Linked DNA regions of Homo sapiens: region 1 is linked to region 2. The links are contacts of gene promoters, found by promoter capture Hi-C in blood cells and fetal thymus (Javierre and others, 2016). All regions are on one chromosome and are shown on one strand. Each heading gives the region's core, a stretch centred on a gene start or on the middle of the fragment in contact. The rest is flanking DNA. Distances are from core to core; before and after follow the strand shown.

Region 1 (3,726 bases), core at 907-3,406, 1.2 Mb before region 2:
GTTAAATTGTTTAAGTTCTTTATGGATTCTGGATAGTAGGCCCTTGTCAGATGCATAGTTTGCAAATATTTTCTTCCATTTCATAGGTCATCTCTTTACTCTGTTAAAAGTTTCCTTTGCTGTGCAGAAGCTCTTCAGTTTAATTAAGTCCCACTTGTTAATTTTTGTTTTTGTTGCAATTGCTTTTGGAGTCTTTATAACAAAATATTTCCCAGTGCCTATTTCCAGAATGGTATTTCCTAGTTATTTCCAGGTTTTTATAGTTCTGGCTTTTACATTTAAATCTCTAATCCATTTCGAATTGATTTTAGTTTATGATAAAAGGAAAAGGTCCAGTTTCAATCTTTTGCTTATGGCTAGAAAGTTATGCAAGCACTATTTATTGACTAGCGATTCCTTTCCCTGTTGCTTGTTTCTGTCAAATATCAGATGGTTGTAGGTGTGTGGCTTTATTTCTAGGCTCTCCACCATGATCCATTTGTCTATGTGTCTATTTTTGTACCAGTACTATGCTGTTTTGATTACTGTAGCCTTGTTGTATAGCTTGAAGTTGGGTAGTGTGATGCCTCTGGCTTTGTACTGTTTGCATACGATTGCTTTGGCTATTCAGGCTTTTTTTTTTTTTTTTGGTTCCATACGAATTTTAGAATAGTTTCTTCTAATTCTATGAAAACATCATTGGTAGTTTGATAGGAATAGCATTGAATCAGATGGTGGTTATAAATTTTCTCTTTCTATTCAACATTTTAGATACTTTACTATAATGTGTTATGTGTTATTATATACTATAGATTATATGTTTATATTATATATAGATATATAATATCTATATGATATTGATATATATATCATATATAGTTTTTGCGTGTATATATATTTATGGAAGGCCTGACTTTATATATATATATCTATATATATCTCCATAAATCTGTGACTTCATATCAGTAATCAGTTTTTGGAAATCGTTAGCTATTACTTATTCAAATAATTATCCTGTCTAATTTTTTTTCATTTCTAATGGGACTGCATTTGCACATATATTAGACCTATTCATGGTATCTCTGTTCTTTCTGTATTCTCTCTAAATATTTTCATTTGTTTTACTGTTCAGATCTCCAATCTTGTCTTTTGCTGTTTCTCATGTGTTTTTCAGTACAGCCCTTTAATTCTTAATTTTACATATAGCATATTTTCTATTCTTTTAATTTTCTCATAACTCATTTTATAAAGTTCAGTTCTCTGACGAAAAATTCCAATTCATCTTTATTTGGTTGAAAATATTAATTAATCTCATATTATAATTTAGGTCTCAAATCCTCATAACCTATTACTCCTCTGAAACTATTTCTTTGTTTCTTTTCTAATCTTTGTTATTATCATCATGATCACCATAATTAGCACCACCATTTATTTTTGCCCATTGCTATGACATGTAATTTTTTTTTTTTTTTTTTTTTTTTTTTGAGACGGAGTCTCGCCCTTTTGCCCAGGCCCGAGTGCAGTGGCGCTATCTCGGCTCACTGCAAGCTCCGCCTCCTGGGTTCACACCATTCTCCTGCCTCAGCCTCCCAAGTAGCTGGGACTATAGGCGCCTGGCTAATTTTTTGTATTTTTAGTAGAGACGGGGTTTCACCGTGTTAGCCAGGATGGTCTAGATCTCCTGACCTTGTGATCTGCCCGCCTCGGCCTCCCAAAGTGCTGGGATTACAGGGGTGAGCCACCGCGCGTGGCCTATGACATGTAATTTTTTAAATGGAATTGTGCAGAAAAAAAATTAGAAATATTTTAACACATTGGCTTGTCTTTATAGAGTTTTTCTTTCGTTTTTCACAGGTAGTTAAATTTGGGCCATACCACCTTAATCCAATATGAAATTAAGCTTATTTGAAACTGATTACAAATCATTATGAGATCTGGTCTACATCTTACTTGATTTTGTCTTCATGCAACTGGAAGACTAGTGTATTCATAAAAATTGTTCCACCTCTGCAAGCCCTGAACTGTAATCCATACTTCCATAGTCTTGGTAAATTGCTCATAGCTATCTTCAGTTTCCAGACTCTAGAATTCAGTATAGGTTATTGGAAATTACCATAATTCAGTTAGTGATTGAGCTAATACTTGGTGGGATTTCAATGTTTGTGACAGCTAGTCAGTTCCTAAGTTACTGTTTTTTTAAGAGTATATTCCTTCAGGCCTCACAAATAAAAGGCTAAAGTATTTGTGTGCTCCTCCCCGTCAGGCTTACATTCAATTTATTTTATCCCACCTCTGGGAGATTAAAAAAATATATTTGTTCAACTTCTTGAATTCCATACCACCGTATGTGGATTGTCGTATCCCCAGATGGAAGAATCACACATAGGAAATCCACATTCACCTCTTTGCTTCTCCTCTGTCCAGGATCTTGTTCCTACAGGACTTGAAAGCTTTAAAGTGACTAATAAAAAGAAGTTACTCAAATTTTCTAGCCTTTGGTTGGAAGATTTAACTGAGACAAGCTAATATGCTTTTCCTGGAAATATTCTGTGGTTTATATTCAAAGATTCATTCTTTTGTTTCAATTATGCATATTATTTTAAGCATATCATGATCACTGAAAGTCACACCAAAATTCTTTACATCTTTTAATTTTTGTTTTGCAGCACAATTTTTGTATTGTACTATGTAGCACCAAGAAAGTGTATAATTTTCATATGTTAGCCACAGGTGAAAAACAAATTCTGCTTGGAGTGGAAATATTTTATTTTTCCAATTAACTTTTAACCTAACAAACACCATAGTATTAAAAATACGTTCAGTTTTCTTAAGAAGCAAAACCTACACAGCATAATTAACTCATGGGACTTTCTAAAGTTACAAGGCCAGAGTTGGGCATATTTAATGCTATCAATTAATTATCTAGAGAATAGTGGATATCCAGTAACTCACTCCGTGCTTGGTAAACATTGAGAAGCAAGCAACTTATTTGTTATAATGTCATTGGTTATTCTTGAGAATACATTTCCGAATTATATATGAAAGCTAATGGGTAATATGATTATTTAATACAATTTGTTTTATGAAAAACAATTCCTTAACAAAAGTCATAGTAAATGACAGCAAATGAATGAAACATTAACTATTTGTTAATCTCCTTGCTTCCCCTTTGCATGCGTAATTACTATTTATTCTTACAACACTTTGAGGTAGATATCAGGCTTTTATAACCTAAATAACTCACCCAAAATTACAGAGGTAGTAAGTGATACAGATATAACTTAAATATATCTCTTTCTGATTTCAATGATTGTTCTCTGAATAGAATTTTTCTTCCTGATTCGTCTTGTTACTTCATAAGTTTACAATTCATTCTCAAAGAGATACAGCAGCTTGTTGCCTGTTTATTACTAATATTGAATGAGCTGAAATACAATAATATGGATCAATGTAAGAAATCAAGAAATGTGTTTATTTTTAAATGCCTTTACATGCCTTTTCTTTTAACTCTAAAATCTTCATATTTTCATCTTTTCCAATAATTTACTTAAATGTTTATAAATACTAAACCAAGAAAAATTTGTTTAAAGAATTTAGTTGTTTTGGTCCATTACTCAGTTTTCCACATTAGTCCCAATAGTGGGAGATGGATTCATTATATTTTATTCGTGGAACACCTAAAATTAGCTTTTTGTTTGTTTGTATTAAATAGATATTTAATCTATAAGCACCAGACATTAAATTATA
Region 2 (3,782 bases), core at 723-3,222:
TTCCTACCTATTCTTTAAAGCTTGTTTGTTCATTCATTCATTCATTCAAGAAAACTTTGTTGGATGTGAACTTGCCAAAGACAATTCTATGGAACCTTCTCCTAAATAACCCCAACTAGAAGTGACTGCTGTCTTCAAAAGCTATTGTAGAAAGCATTTCACATCAACTTATAGAAAGCATTTCACATCAACTTATCTGTTTAATCTCCTCTATTCAGACTAAGTTAACCTCCTTTGAGGTAGAAACCAGAGTCTTAGGAATTTTTTTAATCCTCAGATTGAACCACTTCACACCCTAGGTACTCCTTAGCCATTGTCTAAAAAAAAAAAAATTCACTAAAAATCCAACCACATGTAATTCTACCTATGCAAATTATTCGAAAGGGTAAAATACCAGAAACTCAGAATGTCATTTGATCAACATTTTATAAAGCTAATTAAATCATAAGACAAAAAAATTTTAAAACCAACCAATAGGCAGGGCGCCGTGGCTCACGCCTGTAATCCAAGCACTTTGGGAAGTGGAGGCGGGCAGATTATTTGAGGTCAGGAGTTCGAGACCAGCCTGACCAACACGGTGAAACCACATCTCTACTAAACTACATAAATTAGCCGGCCATGGTGGCGGGGGCCTGCAACCTCAGCTACTCAGGAGGCTGAGGCAAGAGAATCACTTGAACCCAGGAGGCAAAGATTGCAGTGAGCCAAGATCGCGCCACTGCACTCCAGCCTGGGCGACAGAGCAAGACTCCCTCTCAAAAATAAATAAATAAATACCAACCAACAAACTAAATTTCCCTAGTTTTTCATCGACTCTTCATAAAGCTTCCATTCAAAGAAACAAAATGAGTAGGGAAGTTGTAGCTCAAGGTTCTAATTCTAGAAGCGATGCACCAATGACAGTGACATCATTAAAAAGGCCCCTAATGACTGTTAGAGCCGTCTCTAGAAGTTTTCCTGAATGACTTAAACTGATAAAACTTCACATGGACCAACATTCCCAAACATTTCCCTTTAAAATACACTTCCGAAAAATCACACGCACCATCTATTTCTTAGATCTGTAAAGCTCACTCATTTCACCAACTCCTGAAGACCTCTCTAACACAGACTTTTATGACTCTTCCAAATTCACCAAATTTCTTTCCGGTCCTAACTTCAGGGTTGATTCCCTTTTCTCTTCTACAGGAATCACCCCCACCCCAACAATGAAAGGAGATGAAATAAACCAGGAGTTGCAAAGACCAGCGGAGATAGTTACATAGCAGCCTGGAAAAGAGAAAAAAAAAATAAAGAACAAAAAGAGGCGTCTACGGCACCAGACGGTGTGCTCCTTTGTGCACCTATGTTCAGGTATCCCTTGCGCACCAGTCCCACACTTCGCTGGTACACATACCTACTGATAAAAATTAACTGTAAAAGTCAGAAACTCCCACGGTACCTTTCCTTTGGGCTTCTCAAAAATTTTAAGTGATGAACTGCTCTAGAGCTCCGCCCCTTCTTTCCTTACCCTAAAAGTGCAACTTCTGCTCTAGAGAGAAACTTTCTTTTCCCCGAACACCCGTTTTATCCCATCCCCAGGGGAAACGGGGGGAGGGGTTAAGAAAGAGGTCGCCTGGGGGCGCCCAACTCTGCCCTGCCACCCCTGGGCCACAGCCATGCCGGACTTACCCCCAAACAACATAGTTGGTCTTCACATTCTTGGGCCAGGAGAACTCCCCGAAGATCACTTCGTCTCCCTTCACCACAATCTCCTTCTTCTGGATGTTGTACTGTCGCAGGACGCTAAGCACGTCCGCCATCTTCCCCCCCCTCGCCTCCGCCGGCTCGGGGCGCCGCCGCTGCCGCCGCGCCTGCCTCCTTCTTCTCTTGTCGCCTCGCCCTCTTCCTCCTCCTCCTTCGCCGCCGCGACGAACCAACAGCAGCAGCACTAACAGCCGTCCTCGCCTACGACAGCAGCAGGGGCAGTAGCCACCCAGGCCGCCGAGGACCCCGCGCTGTAAGGCAAGGCCCCGCCGCCGGCTGCCCGCGGAGAACGCCTGACTGCGCCCCTCCAGCGAGGCACATCCGCCGCCAGGGGGAGCCGCGACCGCCTGGAAAAGTGCCCCTCCCAGACTTCAGCTGGGCACGGAGCCCACTCACTCGCTGAAACGCTGAGCGCTGGGGCACCGCGCCCACGTACGGCGCACGTACGGGGAACTTTGCCGGGCGCGCGCGCGCGGAGCACGTACCCAGTACCCCGCGGCGCGCACCAAGCGGCGTCAGGTGCGCGCGTACCTGAGCAGTGGGTCAGCACTTCCATCCCCAGCACGTGCACTGAGTATTTAACGAACTGTCTCGGGTGCGACCAGAGGCTCCCCCGGGTCCCTGCTTTGGCCGGGATGGAATTCGGCAAGGATTTGCGGAACACTAGAATTACCTTCCTATTTAGATCGGACCCAGGCCTAGCCAAAGACCTCTAGGACTTAGTGATCCGGAGAAGCCCTTTTGAAAGAGTGGGGCTCTTGGGGTTGGGGTTGGGGTTTTTTGTTTGCTTTTGATGTGGAAAAGAACGAGTTTTGGTTTTTTGTTGGTTTTGAGTGGAAAAGACCGAGTCCAGAAAAAAAAAAAAACAGTTCTGGGCACTGCTCGTCAAGTTACATAGCTTCTCACAGCATCAATTGGTTAATGAAGAAAATGGGGTTAATACGAAGATAAGGTAAACGCGCCTAGCAAGTCAATAAAATATCCTAAATGTTGGATCCTCCCTCTTCATTCTTTGGATGATGACTTTTTCCATCGCGGTCCCTTCTCCCCGCCAATCCCGAAGGGCTATATTCAAAAGGCTGTGTTCCAAGATGTAAATGGGAAAGTTGCCCTAACAGAAACCCCAAACGGTCCAATTTAGAACACTTCCAGACTACCCAATTTTTTAAATGGTACTCAGAAGTCTCAGTGGTGTCCTTGACATGCGTTTTGAGACGGTTAAGATAAGTTCAATATACTATGGCCAACCAAACACATCCTATGGGATTGTTTTTTTTCTTTTACCATGTCAGAAGGAAAAAAGAGGCAACTTTGTGTTTGACATAACCAAATTCCTTGACCTGTTTTGAAAAAAGTCAATCTTTTCACAACGCAGAGGACTACAGATACAGAAGTGTGTGGTTCATTTCCGATATGATCTGTAGCCATTCTGCAACTGTTAGTTTGTGAAATTTTTTTCTGTTCCACCAATGTTTTCACCCCGTAGTATTCTCCTGAATCTCACCCCAAGCACACACATTATAAAGAAATGGCTACAATTACCTATCCCCACATTCTCTATTCATACCTGTGTCAGAGCACTCAGTACCATATTACTTCCCTTTATAGTTTATTTGCCTGCATCCACAAAACTGAAACACCATAGATCTGTGTCCTCATATCCTACTGTCTAACATTATTTGGTACATATTAGTAATAAATGGATGAATTCAATAAATTGATGGAAGCTCCTAGTAAATATCGAGTTAATACATGGATAGAGGCTTCTAATAAATGTTGAAGTAATGAATGGAAAGATAAGCTCAAGGAAGCCAAGATTTCATGATTAGGAGGCTCGACTATAGTCCCTTCAAACGATACTTAATTTTATTTCATACTCAAATAATGATTAAAGTCTCTCTTTTCAGAGAAATTATGTTTTTTAGGTTAATGAATTTTAAAAAGTGGTAAGATAAGTCATTAGTAAGTTGTTGCTTTTAACAGTTAAAGCATTGAAATTTGTAGATCATTTTTTTCCTGACCAGCCTGGGCAACAT

The links. Contacts are between HindIII fragments. The CHiCAGO score rates a contact against its expected background, and 5 or more counts as called.
Region 1: a fragment that was not itself captured here is called in contact with the fragment with the promoter of CDC73 in region 2 in 5 of 17 cell types (naive B cells, naive CD4 T cells, fetal thymus and 2 more); the score reaches 10.4 in naive B cells.

The regions. Positions count from the first base shown.
Region 1 is chr1:194,274,209-194,277,934 of GRCh38, reverse strand. All of the region lies in intron 2 of LOC107985242 (a long non-coding RNA gene), which reads left to right. Among named protein-coding and RNA genes, the nearest start is that of LINC01031, 970 kb to the right of the region's middle. The HindIII fragment of the contact is 550 bases long and covers 1,882-2,431 here.
Region 2 is chr1:193,120,221-193,124,002 of GRCh38, reverse strand. CDC73 (cell division cycle 73) reads right to left here and starts at 1,972. Exons shown (of 17, transcript NM_024529.5): 1 at 1,672-1,972. The coding sequence starts at 1,802. RefSeq lists enhancers at 1,535-1,584, 1,184-1,828, 1,855-1,924, 1,829-2,475 and a silencer at 2,085-2,164. The HindIII fragment of the contact is 13,310 bases long and covers 828-3,782 here.